5 separate regions of the Homo sapiens genome follow, and regions 1, 2, 4 and 5 are each linked to region 3. The links are contacts of gene promoters, found by promoter capture Hi-C in blood cells and fetal thymus (Javierre and others, 2016). All regions are on one chromosome and are shown on one strand. Each heading gives the region's core, a stretch centred on a gene start or on the middle of the fragment in contact. The rest is flanking DNA. Distances are from core to core; before and after follow the strand shown. Region 1 has its middle 7.6 kb from the start of DOCK2. Region 2 overlaps DOCK2 (dedicator of cytokinesis 2). Region 3 holds the start of PANK3 (pantothenate kinase 3). Region 4 overlaps SPDL1 (spindle apparatus coiled-coil protein 1). Region 5 overlaps DOCK2 (dedicator of cytokinesis 2).

The links. The method cuts DNA at HindIII sites, captures the fragments that hold promoters and counts their contacts. A CHiCAGO score of 5 or more calls a contact.
Region 1: a contact is called between a fragment that was not itself captured here and the fragment with the promoter of PANK3 in region 3, in 1 of 17 cell types (naive CD8 T cells). The highest score is 5.4, in naive CD8 T cells.
Region 2: a contact is called between a fragment that was not itself captured here and the fragment with the promoter of PANK3 in region 3, in 1 of 17 cell types (naive CD8 T cells). The highest score is 5.7, in naive CD8 T cells.
Region 4: a contact is called between a fragment that was not itself captured here and the fragment with the promoter of PANK3 in region 3, in 4 of 17 cell types (erythroblasts, total CD4 T cells, M2 macrophages and 1 more). The highest score is 8.1, in erythroblasts.
Region 5: a contact is called between a fragment that was not itself captured here and the fragment with the promoter of PANK3 in region 3, in 1 of 17 cell types (naive CD8 T cells). The highest score is 5.6, in naive CD8 T cells.

What each region holds. Positions count from the first base shown.
Region 1 is chr5:169,628,361-169,631,060 of GRCh38, reverse strand. No RefSeq gene overlaps it. Among named protein-coding and RNA genes, the nearest start is that of DOCK2, 7.6 kb to the left of the region's middle. The HindIII fragment of the contact is 3,172 bases long and covers 1-2,700 here.
Region 2 is chr5:169,748,653-169,751,352 of GRCh38, reverse strand. The region is part of intron 23 of DOCK2 (dedicator of cytokinesis 2); the gene reads right to left. Among named protein-coding and RNA genes, the nearest start is that of DOCK2, 110 kb to the right of the region's middle. The HindIII fragment of the contact is 2,431 bases long and covers 167-2,597 here.
Region 3 is chr5:168,578,109-168,580,808 of GRCh38, reverse strand. PANK3 (pantothenate kinase 3) reads left to right here and starts at 1,441. Exons shown (of 7, transcript NM_024594.4): 1 at 1,441-1,553. The coding sequence starts at 1,526. RefSeq lists a silencer at 1,164-1,493 and enhancers at 1,010-1,553, 1,644-1,713. The HindIII fragment of the contact is 14,951 bases long and covers 1-2,700 here.
Region 4 is chr5:169,601,978-169,604,677 of GRCh38, reverse strand. It overlaps SPDL1 (spindle apparatus coiled-coil protein 1), which reads right to left. Exons shown (of 12, transcript NM_017785.5): 12 at 1-618. The coding sequence ends at 471. Among named protein-coding and RNA genes, the nearest start is that of SPDL1, 20 kb to the right of the region's middle. The HindIII fragment of the contact is 1,303 bases long and covers 602-1,904 here.
Region 5 is chr5:169,690,239-169,692,938 of GRCh38, reverse strand. The region is part of intron 9 of DOCK2 (dedicator of cytokinesis 2); the gene reads right to left. Among named protein-coding and RNA genes, the nearest start is that of DOCK2, 54 kb to the right of the region's middle. The HindIII fragment of the contact is 2,807 bases long and covers 1-2,689 here.

The DNA of each region.
Region 1 (2,700 bases), core at 148-2,647, 1.1 Mb before region 3:
TCTAGAAGTGACTGTGGGAGTGAGGGTTGGCGATAGGGAGAATCAAGAGCTTTCCTGCTTACCTAGAGTTTGCTCTATCAGATGAATGTTAATAGCCTCATCCAGGTCACTGCGAATGTCACTAATTCATTCATTTTTATGGCTGAGTATTATTCTATCATAAGTATATTCTAAGTGAAGTAACTCAGGAATGGAAAACCAAACATTGTATGTTCTCACTCATAAATGGGAGCTAAGCTATAGGATGCAACGGCATAAGAATGACAGAATGGACTCAAGGGGAAATGGTGGGAAGAGGGTGAGGGATGAAAGACTACAAATAGGGTGCAGTGTATACTGCTCAGGTGATAGGTGCACCAAAATTTCACAAATCACCACTAAAGAACTTATTTATGTAACCAAACACCACCTGTTTCCCAATAACCTATGGAAATAAAGTATATATATATGTATATATATTTAAAAATGTTAATAGCCTCAAGCCCACTGCTAGTTAATGCTGTAGGCATCTGCCGGTGGGATCTACCTCAACTGTGAGACTAAGACGTCAAGGCCCAGATTAATATCTTTCAGTGCATCCTTCAAATACTTTTGCACACTATTTAAAAGTCTTAAGAATATTATGCAGGGCCATCATTCCCCCCGACAGCTTCATTTCCTGCCTCCTCTGCCCCTTCTTACACCACCTCCCTGCACCACACCCACAATCACCCTACACTCTTACAAGATGGTGCTGTTTGAAGTTTCCTAGAAGTGCCACAATTCTCAGATCTCTGTGTGCTGTAGTCCTTCCTCCAATAGGAATACCTCTTCTTGCCCTCTAGGTTAAGTAGTTCTGGGAAGATTTACTTGGTGACTCCCCCCACCTCCCAATTCCCCCTCCAGTTAGACAACCCTCCTGCGGCAGCCCATGCTCATGAACTACTGGTCTGTCTAGTAGTCGCAATGGCTCTTTCTGCAAAGCTGCCAAGGCTCATACTGGGTGCAGTGACATCAGCCCTGCTCCTTTTCCACATCTCGTTGGCACTGACTCATCTAGAAACAATGATATTTGACAGGGGCCAACTACTAGCAGTCCAAAGGCCAAATCTGGAGGGTGACATATTTGTTTAACAAGCATATTTTATTTTACAGTTTTTAATGTTTTTAAAAATTGCCAGCAATTAACAATCAAGAGATTTTACCTGAACTTCTAGATTTCTAGTCTCTCTCTAAATAAATGTAGACACTGCATTTCCACAAGGCAGTTTCAGCTGGAGGCAGCTTCAGCAGCTGTCCTTGAGTTTGAACATGCACTCTAGTTGCCACAATCTCCAATGCTGAGGCCAAATTTCAATGGCTATTTACCATTGTGCTTACACAGTTGTTTTTCTTAAGATAAAAACAAAAATGAAATACTGCTTGGCCCTGTGTTCTATCAAAAGTGGGAAAATAAGAGAGACTGAAAAGATATATGTTTCAGGAAACATGGGAGAGGGTGTATATATTTACAGATGTGAAGAATATTCTTAGATGTAGGTCTACATAGAACAAGTTCTTCTTAAGTTGCCATAATAACAACAAACCCAGTTTGCTTCATTCATTTAAGTTACCTGCCTAGTCCCCATAGACACTGAGTTGAGACCTTGGTGGGTGTATTACAAACGAGAAAGGCCAACAGTTTCTGGCCAATAAGGAGGCTTTGTATTGGGTGATAGCAAACCAACCCAGTTAGGTCTTCTCATTTCAGAAGTATAAATAGTAGACATTACTGCAGAAAGCAAATTACTTGAGCCAAGAGCGCCTCTTGAATAATCTCAATCTCTTGATTTTTTGGAGAAATCAATTATCTGGTTTAGAAAGAGACAATAGATTCCTCATAAGCCTTCATGTTCTAGCAATAAGCCTCCAGTCATCTGGGTGTATCTCTTCTCTAAGTCCAATACACATCTGCATGCCATGTTGTAATTGTGGCTTTACTGGACTTCCACCCATTCCTAGAGGCTGAGTGCTCCTTCATTCCACAAACGTCTATGGAGAACTCATCATGTGAAAAGTCCTGAGGATATATCTTGGGGAACAACACAAACAAGATTGCCACTCTCATCAATCCTGTAGGCTAGAAGGGAAGGCAGAAAATCCATGTACATAATACATTTTAATAAAGAAAATAAATTGTATAAAGAGTACTGTGGGAGAGTGGAAAAGGGGATGGTCTGGGAAGGGCTGTCTGAGAAAGTAATAGTTAAAAAGTGACCCTTGAGGAATCACCAGACTGTCTTCCACAATGGTTGAACTAATTTACACTCCCACCAACAGTGTAAAAGTGTTCCTATTTCTTCACAGCCTCGCAAGGATCTAGAACCAGAAATACCATTTGACCCAGCAATCCCATTACTAGGTACATACCCAAAGGAATAGAAAACAGTCTACTATAAAGACACATGCACATGTATGTTTATTGCAGCACTATTTACAATAGCAAACACTTGGAACCAAACAAAATGCCCATCAATGATAGACTGGATAAAGAAAATGTCGTACATATACACCATGGAATACTATGCAGACATAAAAAAGAATGAGTTCATATCCTTTGCAGGGACATAGATGAAGCTGGAAGCCATCATTCTCAGCTAACTAACGCAGGAACAGAAAACCAAACACCACATGTTCTCACTCATAAATGAGAGTTGAACAATGGGAACACATGGCCACAGG
Region 2 (2,700 bases), core at 133-2,632, 1.2 Mb before region 3:
TTCATACAGTCACTTCTTGTGGGTTTATTCTCTTAAGAATGTATATTTATATTTCTTGATCTAACTGAATAACTGAACATCCTAACACTATTTAGTCTTGTGTAACAAAATTAGGAACACAAATGCCCGCCTTCTGAATCCTCACTAGTAAAATACCCAAAAAGCTTCTGTTTTATGATGAAGTAAAGGAGGAAGAGGTATAAATGATTAAAAAATGATTTAAACCAAACTATGTAACAGGCTTTATACTTCAGGTTTCACATATATTACTTTATTTCACCCCCTCAATAATCCCCTAAATTACACATTTGGCCTTCCATGTTACAGAGGATAAACTGAGGCCGAGAAAGCTGAAACGATGTGCCTAAGGCTACATGTCCACATCTCTCTGGTCAAAAGCCAAAGCTCCCTCTCCTGCAGCAAATCTCAAAGTCTATAGAAGAGTCCTTGTGTGGGATTTGCTGACATCACATGGGCTTGACACCTCTGCCCTCATCATTAAGTTCTCTTCATATGGTACTGCTCTCCATATTAGAATGTAACTTTAAATTCTTCTTCGATAACTTTTCAATAGCTATGTAAATAGGTGGAAAGCATCATTGGTTTTATGAAAATCCCTGAGGCTAAATTTGACCCTTAGAGCAAATTGAAAAAGAGATGAAGCCCCTTTCTATGTCTCTGGAGTGGAAATCTATGAGAACAAACCAACAAACCTGGCCCAAATTATAAGGAAAGCAAGGTATTTCTAACACAGCTACCCAGACAAGAACCACCTGGGTAAAAAGACTTATGCCAAAACCATAATAATCATATTAGTTCACTGCATTTGCATAGCATTTTATAATTTGTTCTTTTGCAGACAATGTTTATTTGATCCTCACCCACACAATGAAATCTTATAGATGAGGAAACTGAGGCATTGAGAAGTTAAGTGACCAATGTAAGGTCATGCAGCTGATAAAGAAGGGCATTCCTATTGACCAGGTGTCTTGAGAGCGGCAAATGCTCACTTGTTCCTCTTTGCTTCCTTTTTTTCTCCTTCTTTCTTTCCCTGCCTTCTTACTGTCTCTCTCCCTTTGTTCCTTCCCCAAATATATGTGTAGCCCATCGTAGGGAAACAGGTGCTGAAATTAGAAAGAGTAGCTCCAAAATTACCTATTCCCTCTTCCATTCTTCTCTCCATGGCACCTCAACTTCTTTGGGGCATCAGCGCCTTTCTCCTCTGGGATGAGAAACTGGCTTTATCTATTGGCTCATCATTTCTGCTCTTTCACACTTCAGCTTCCTTGGAGCTGATTTCACACCTGATTCAACCCTATAGCCTCTCTCATGGCAATTGGTCATCCTTGGCTCTCTCCAGATATCCCAACACTGTGTGGCTACTCACTAGAAGCTCAGTTGCTTCCAGTGTGATACAGATGCAGTGGCTGGCTGGGGCTCCTGCCGCATCTCCTCATGCTGTCCCCTGCTCCTGTTATCCCCTTAGTCAGAGAATGATGAAGGGGTTAGGAATATGAGGAATACATTTTTTGTTTGTTTGCTTTTTAACCAGGAGGGGGTAAGGGAAAAATAAAAACTAGAAGACTGCAGTCCCAACTAATCCATAGGAAGACATCCATCCCCAGCAGGGACTAAAGAAACAGTATAAAGAACAGGCTAATGCCGTGGTAGTGAGTATGGTCTTTAGAGCCAGGCAGGAACAGATATGAATCTGAGCCATCCCACTTCTCAGCAATGGTGCCTGGAGGAAGCTGTTTCAACTGTCTGAGCTTCAATTCCCTCATCAATAAAATAGAAACCTTAAGACGTATCCCTAGTGTTATACATTAATTAATTCAACAGATATCTATTAAGCATCAACTAATAAATGATTATTAGTTGAAGACACACTAATCATTGTGTTTTCAACACTCAGAATAATCCTAATATTAGGATTAGAGAACTCATATGATTATTATGGTTTTGGCATAAGTCTTTTTACCCAGGTTCTTCTTGTCCGGGTAGCTGTGTTAGAAATGCCTTGTTTTCCTTGTGATTTGGGCCAGATTATGCTGGTTTCTTCCCATAGATTTCCACCTCAGAGACATAGAAAGGGGCTTCATCTCTTTTTCAATTTGCTCTAAGGGCCAAATTTAGCCTCAGGGATTTTCATAAAACCAATGATGCTTTCCACCTATGTGTATGGCTGTTGAAAAGTTATCAAAGAAGAATTTAAAGTTATGTTCAAATATGGAAAGCAGTACCATGTGAAGAGAACTTAGTGATGAGGGCAGAGGGGTGAAGCCCATGTGATGTCAGCAAATCCCACACAAGGACTCTTCTATAGACTTTGAGATTTGCTGCAGGAGAAGGAGCTTTGGCTTTTGACCAGAGAGATGTGGGCATGTAGCCTTAGGCACATCGTTTCAGCTTTCTGAGCCTCAGTTTATCCTTTTATAACATGGCAGGCCTAATGTGTAATTTAGAGGATTTTTGAGAGGGTGAAATAAAGTAATATATGTGAAGCATGAAATATAAAGCCTGTTACATAGTTTGGTTTAAATCATTTTTAATCATTTATACCTCTTCCTCCTCTATCTCATCATAAAACAGAAGCTTTTTGGGTATTTTACTAGTGGATTCTAGAGGAGGGTATTTATGTTCCTAACCTTGTTACATAAGACCAAATAGTGTTAGGACCTTCAGTTATTCAGTTAGATC
Region 3 (2,700 bases), core at 192-2,691:
TAATCATTGTATTTCAAAAAGTAGTTGGGAGGATTAAATTTAAATTTTAAAAGTAAGGCACTTTGCAAAGTGTCAGCCCTTGGTATGTACTCAATAAATGGTAGCTTGTGTCCTCTCCTGTCCTTCTTCACATCCCTTGGCTTATCATCTGCAAGAAGGGGCAGTAAGGCTCTTTGGTAAGCGGGTTTCTTTGACTGGAATGCCCAATCCTCTACTGCCAACCCTCTATCCATCTATTGTAAAAACTACAGAATTCCTGGCCATCTAACTGGGCAACAAAAGTGAAGGCCAAGAGAAGATACCCAATGCCATCTTCTCCCATTCCAGCTGGAGGACTAAGACTCTAGGAGGCAAGGGGAAAGGGTGTCCTGGCTTTACTGTGAGAACTGGAGCAACTAAATTTTCTTCTCTGGGAGTCAGTTTTCCCTTTAGAAGGAGAGAGCTGGGCTGGAGGGCCCCAGGGGAATATGGATCGGTGGCAAAAAGAATGCTCAGCAAGCAATTTAACTCCTCAGACCGTGCCCCATCTTCAAAATGAGTGACAATAAAATGAATAATTGCACGTGGTCCACAAGGCCCCTGAATTTAAGTAAATCACACAAAGTGCTTAGCAGAGTCCCATGAACATAACGCGTTCCATAGATGTTACCTCTATTCCTGCTATTGTCATCATTCCGACCCTAACATTCAAGGTGTCTCTATTAAGCAAAAGGATTCCTTTGTGAATAATTTTAATCCGCCAATGTACTCAAGGGTCTATCTTAAGCACAGCTCTAGAGCCCTGATTGTAGCGCTTTCCATGGCCTGACGACCAGCTTTCCTGTCTCAAGGGGAAATCTGAGAATGGCCGAACAGCCATGACAGTCCTCTCGAAGAGTTCATTCCCCCTTCTCTCCGCGACCTGCTGAGGTCTGAGCCCGACTTCCCCAGCACGCCCATCTCAGTCACCATTGGTCGCCTCCTCGCTGGCGTGACTAAGACCCAGCCCTCTTCTCGCTGGGACCACTCTGAGGCGATCTGCGGAAGCTGAGGGGCCTCGGAGGAGGGGCCGCGATGCATCTCGGGCTTTGTAGTCCACCTGCACAACTACAGCCAGAGAGCGGGGCCTCACGAACCGGAGAACTACAATCCCCAGCAGCCGGGCGGAAGCGGAGCGAGGGGGGGCTCGCGTCACGTGGGCGTTCGGCCTGGGCGGGCTATTTCTCAGTGCGGCGGCGGCGGCGGTGGCGGCGGCTCCGGGGACCGGGGCCTTTTGTTTGGAGCGGCTGCGGGGGGGCCCCGGAGCGGCGAGGCCGGCGGCCTTCCCCAGCTTGCTCGGTCCCGGCCACCCCTCGCGGGGGTGGGGGGCCGCCCCCTGGGCCGGGCATCTCCTCAGGCGCCGCCGCCCCGCCCTAGGCCGGCCCCGCCCGGCCTGAGGGGAGGAACCGGCCGGGCCTCGCCGCGCGGCCCAGCCACCTCCGGAGTCGCCGCCTCTGCTCTCAGTGCCCCGGATCGGAGGCCGTCCATCGCCCCTCGGGCCGACGCCATGAAGATCAAAGATGCCAAGAAACCCTGTAAGACGGGGGCTGGGGCCCGCCAGGTTGGGAGGGCACCCTTGGGCCCCGTCTGAAAGCCCCTTGGCTGGGCGGTCGGCTTCCAAGCCCGTCGCTCCTCGCCGGCGCTTCGTCCGGTATGGGGGCGGAGGGACCATTTGAGCCACGAGTTCGAGGCTTCCGTCCTCCCCATCCCCCTATTCATGCATGGTGAATGCCTGCCGCCCCCTAGCCTTTCCTCCCACTTTCTCTTCGAGATCTGGGAGGTGCCAGAGGGAATTTCTGATTCTGATTTTTGTCAAACCAGACTAGTCTCCTCTCCCAGCTCCCCCTGAATTCAGGTTGAAAAGAGGCGGTCGCGGCTGTCAGGTTGCGCTGGCGGCTTTTAGCACCTGTTTTTAGGGATTTCCGGGCTTCCTGCTTGTGTCCTTGAAATGCCGGTGGGTTCCTGGGAGTTGTCACTGTTGTTACAGTTGGAGCTTTCAAACGTACGTGCATGCAGTCTGCCAGTGTGTAATTGCTTTGGCTTGTTTTTGTTTAGAATATCAACTAGTTCATGTTTGTTTTAGAAAACGCAGATAAACAAGAAAGATAAAGTCACCCGTATTCCCCGCACCCGGAGCGAACCGCTATTAATATTATGGTGAATACCCGTAGATATTTTTCTATGCATGTACTTAAATTCTGACTATGCTTTTAGAAAGGTCGACTTTCATTTGCTTCCTTTTATGTTTAGTCTTTTAAAAACCTTTTATTCCAGTAATTGACTTATTTAATCACCCAGCCATTGTGATTGTCACTCTTTTTAAGTATAGCCTCCCAGAAGGACTAGGAACGTGGGGATTCATGCTCATCTTAGAGTCGTATTGATACTTTTGCTGTTTTTACAGTGTTTCATGTGATCTCTTTAACTGTTAAGAAATCCACAACTATAAAACAGGGCGCTGACACCTTCCCTGCCCGCCTATCGGGGTTCCTGTAAAACTCACCTGAGAGGCAACAAGCCAAAACCCTGTGAAAACTACAAATTCCTATATAACTGTAAGGTAATTTGGTCTTAACTTCACAGGTGAGGAAATTGAACTTAGCCCCAGAGTAACTTTTCCAAGCATGTACCAACCATGTGCTATGTGGTTCATAACTCTAAGGGGACTGACTCATAATACAG
Region 4 (2,700 bases), core at 4-2,503, 1.0 Mb before region 3:
ATCCTGAAACAATATAATGTATATATTTTAAGCCACATTTCCTATTTTTACAACATAGTTTACAACCTTCCCATTTTTACAACATAGTCTAAAACTAAGTTTATAAAAAAAAGTACATAGGAAAATATGATTGAAGCATTCTCAAATACATGGCTCTGAGGGTAGATTACTTGTTTTTTATCATTTAATCCATATACAATGCAGCAAATAGATACATTAATTATAACATTTTCCTTCAATTAATAGTTTATTCACTGTCATAGAAGCTCCATGAAGGGGCATCACTTAAGAAGCTCTCCAGGTTAGAGTCAAGCAAATTCTGAACACTTGGTCAAAGGCACATGAAAATGCCAGGTCCTGGCACAATGAGTAAATAACCCAGAAGGTGATATATGTCAGATCAAGACAATCTTAAGCACCATAGTAACTTTTGAGGCAAGTGGCACCGTACTCTTATTAAAGACAAGTCTTTACTGTTGAGGGCACTGGGTCTCTGGAGTAGATTTAGAAGACACATATAGAATAGGGTGTAATTTCTTACAAGTTTCTTTTTCCAATTTGCTTGAAGTTTCTTTTCCTTCTTTAACTTCTGTTTGAAGCTTTGATTCAGCAGCTAACCTACAGGCATTAAAGCATCCACTCTGAATTCAAATGTGGTTATGAAGGATTGAAGAAACAAACCCCCAGTATAATGGGCCTCCAATAAGGCATGGTATTCAAGGAAAAAAAATATAGTTGACTCTAATACTGTAAGAATATTAAGTCACTGGCTGTCTAAAAGTCTTTTTATATCAATAGGCTCAATTATTGTTATTATTACTTTTTGAGACAGAGTCTCACTCTGTCACCAGGCTGGAGCGCAGTGGCATGATCTCGGCTCACTGCAACCTCCGCCTCCCGGGTTCAAGCGATTCTCCTGCCTCAGCCACCGGAGTAGCTGGGACTATAGGTGCGCACCCCCACATGCAGCTAATTTTCGTATTTTTAGTAGAGACAGGGTTTCACCACGTTGGTCAGGATGGTCTTGATCTCTTGACCTCGTGATCCACCTGCCTCAGCCTCCCAAAGTGCCGGGATTACAGGTGTGAGGCACCACGCTGGGCCAATTATTTTTTAAGTCTAAAGAATATCTTTAAAAAGTCATGGCAAGCCCTAAATTAAAGAAAATATGACAGGGCACCTATCATGATAAGCACACCTAACACAAAAACTGAAATGTTACAGCAATATTTTAATGTTAACATGACATACAAAAGGCAAGACAAAAATAACATGGAATCTTGGGCTGCATGAATAGATGTCTATTTGTTTCATATTAAAAAATTGAGTTTCAACTAGTAGAATAAAGAAAAGATAAACAGTAGAGAGATTCTTAAAGGCCTGTAAAGATTCTCGGTAACAAGAACACCAATTAGTTTTGTAAAGCATGCAATAGTGAAGTTCCCAATAAAAGCCATATTTATTGTTCCAAAATTATCTTAGGATTGTGTATCTAAGTTAAACAGGCAGAAAACAAAGAGTCGGAAACATTTTAAGTTAGCAGATGGACTCACACACACACACACACACACAAATGTTTTGTGGTATTTTATTTTTTGTTTAACGAACAAGACAAAAAGTTTCCAACGTGCTACTTGAGTCAATTAGCCACATACATTTGCTTAAGTGATTTTTTATCAAGCAAAAAAAGGCAGAAAAAGGAATGAAGACAATACAGATAGCAAGGCTGGCACTTATCAATTCTGGAAATCCACCTCCAGAAATATACACTGGTCAAGGATGTTTATACAATGCATCACATATAAACAGGCATAATCTGCTGGATTCATTTCAGAACTCTTTGAAACCATGGGTATGTGGCAGATACTCATTTGAAGTTACTTTTTCCTTAAGAATGGTAAGCTTTTATTTTATGTGACTCAGAGGTTATAACATTCTATAAAAATCCAAGGAGGGAGTAATAAAATTACTATGCCTTATAATAATAGCAGCTAACATTGTTAAAGTGCTTTTACTGTTGAATATTACATTTAGTAGCACTGAAGACTTGGAGAGAAATCAGATAAAACATATAAGCCCTTTTAAACAGGGCTGTCTTACTCTCTCTACTCAAATGCACATTAGTAAAATGTCTTATTAATCTGTCTCCACTCTCTAAGACTAAGGTAGCCCTAGTAGCACCTTCAACATCTCATTTCATAGGAGATAATCTAGGCTAGTTATTGGCACATCTTTTTGAATGTCTAGATATTTGTTTTAAATGCCTCTAACAATCCCATTGCATGCAGACATCCTTCATCTTTCTTTTACTTTCTTCAATTTCCTCATTCACTTCTCCTGCTGCGCACATCCAGAACTCGAGCCTCAGCCACTGCTACTTACCTTTCCCTTCCATTCACTTTCTCTTACCTTCTGACCTCAATTATTTTTATTAAGACAAAGCCCTTGGGACATTAATTCCTTCAGACACACATATCTGACGCTATTTCTTTTAGTCACAAACTCAATTATGCAGAAACTAGAGGCTTTCAAGTTTTGGAAACAATGAAAATGAGTTAGCTTTGATATGTAAAAATGTCAAAATAAGTATTGAAGCCCATTTTTGAATGCCTAGGATAAGCAATTCAAAAGACATAAAAAATTCACCTAAGTTTCCTAGAAGGCTGAAATTTCTTAGACTACTGGAAAGCCCTTTGAGAA
Region 5 (2,700 bases), core at 37-2,536, 1.1 Mb before region 3:
TAAATAAGTAATTAAGTTAAAAAGAGGTTGTTTGGTCAGTATGACTGGTGTCCTTATAAGAAGATATCAGGGCACAGACAAACACAGAGAGAAGACCACGGTGAAGACTCAGGGAGAAGACAGTCATCTGCAAACCAAGGCAAGAGGCCTCAGAAGAAACCAACCCTGCCAACACCTTAATCTCAGACTTCTAGACTCCAGAATTGTGAGAAAATACATTTCTCTTGTTTGCATGAACCAATCTGTGATAGTTATGGCAGGCCTAGCAAACTAATATACTACATAAACCTAGAAGATTCCCAGGTAAGCCCCCATTCCACCTTCTTCTCTTAACAATTTTTTACTTGCTCAAAGGAAGATGTCAGACCTCTTAGAGCTGTCTCATCGGACAGCGCCCCCCCGCCACCCCACCCCCACACACACACCTCCACACTAAAGAATCTTAAAGTGTAAAAAATAGCCAAATGCTATATTCACATTATATTCTCTGGAGGGTGTGTCAACTGGCAATCCTCATACAGAATTGTGCTCCAATCTATGGTGTCTCCCAGTCATTTCTGCTTCGGCCTTACAAAACTCGAAAGTATTGGGGAAGCAGGGCAATGGAACTTAACAAGCATCACCTGATTTAGGAACTCATTAGTGCTTCTTTTATTGTTCACTCTTGTTTCCTGTGTGTTAGCAACCACCCCAAAACTGGGCTAAATCTTAGGGAACCTCGTAGTATATGCTGCTTTCTTCTTACATAGCCTTGTGGGGTAAACCCTTACAAAACAGAGGGAAAGGGCCAGGAGCAGTGGCTCACGCCTGTAATCCCAGCACTTTGGGAGGCTGAGGTGGGTGGATCACGAGGTCAGGAGATCAAGACCATCCTGGCCAACATGGTGAAACCCCGTCTATACTAAAATACAAAAAATTAGTGGGGCGTGGTAGCATGTACCTGTAGTCTCAGCTACTTGGGAGGCTGAAGCAGGGGAATTGCTTGAACCCAGGAGGTGGAGGTTGCAGTGAGCTGAGATTGCACCACAGCACTCCAGCCTGGCGACAGAGCAAGACTCCATCTCAAAAAAAAAAATAAATAAAAATAAATAAATAAATAAATAAATAAAACAAAACATAGGGAAAGTCAACAGTCAGCTGGACCCACATGCCAGGCTCAGAGAGGCTCAGAGAGGCTCAAAGATCTGGAAGCCTTCCCCCAACATAGGAGACCAGGAAGAGCTAACATCCAGAGAGGGAGGAAATAAGGCCAGCAAGACACATGCTTGCCAAGTCTTATCTCATCTCTAATTTAAACGTCACCTCAACACCCAGTTGAAAGTAACTTCCAGTCACATACCATCACATCACCCTGTTTTAATTATCTGCATTGCTTGGATTGCTTTCTGACATTGCTCTTGTTTATTTGTGCATGCATTTTATTATCTGAATTTAACCCCACTGCACCATGAAAGCACTCACTGCTGTATGGCCAGTGCTTAGCACAGAGCACATGCATAGTAGGCACTCATTGGCTAGCTCTTGGATCGATATAAGAAGTGAGAGCACCATCACCTTCCTTGCCCCCTGATATGGTCTGGATCACTGTCCCCACCCAAATCTCATGTTAAAATGTAATCCCCAGGCTGGAGGTGGGGCCTGATGGGAGGTGATTGGATCATGGGGGTGCTTTCTTATGGTTTAACACCAGGAGAAATGACACCAAAGGTGCTATCATCATGATAGCGAGTTCTCCTAAGACCTGGTTGTTTAAAAGTGTGTAGCACCTCCCCCGTGTCTCTTGTTCCTGCTCTGGTCACATAGGACAAGCCTGCTTTCCCTTTGCCTTCTGCCATGATGGCAACTTTCCTGAGGCCCCCCCAGAAGTCGAGAAGATGCCAACATCACCCTTCTCGTACAGCCTGAAGAACCATGAGCCAATTAAAGCTCTTTTCTTTACAAATTACCCAGTTTCAGGGATTTCTTTATAGCCATGCAAGAATGAACTAATACACCCCCAGATCAAGACTGATCATCTTAACAGAGGGAAGCATCCACCTGTTGAGCCTGTCAACCAAGGCTCTCAACTCCACTTGTTCTGAGGAGCGGAGGTGTGGCCCAGGCAGAATTCCATGAAGGCAGGATTACATTCTCATTAATGCTGTGTGACACAAATTTACTGATGCTCTTTCCCCCATGTTTACATCATGAATTGGTTCTCTGCAAAATGAACCACTGATTGATTCCCCGTTCTTCTCCCTCTCATGCAACATCTGTCTTGTGGTTTAATCAGGAAGGCCTGTGGGACTCTCCTATTTATCCAGAAAATAAATAGGCTCCTCCTTGTAACTAATAACAGATAAACAGGATGGAGGCACATCTATATATGCCAAGAAAACTTTGCCTAAGCAATTAGGACCTATGATCCCATTCCATGCCTCTGGCCCATTTTTTAAAGAAAATAACAAAATTAATCAGCTATTCCTCAATGTAATCACAACATAACATAAGACATTGCAATTAATGGGCTGTAACCAAAAAATTATTGTAGAGCAAGGTAGGTTAATCTAGCATGTCGGTCACTCCTGGATCCAACTCATCTGTTTGGTCAATGCCCAAATCCCTCCCTGGCTCCTTCTCTGTAATTTCCCTAGCTAATACAGGCAATGTAGTGAAAAATCTCATAAACAGTGTTCTCCCCAAAGAAGCTTACAGACAATG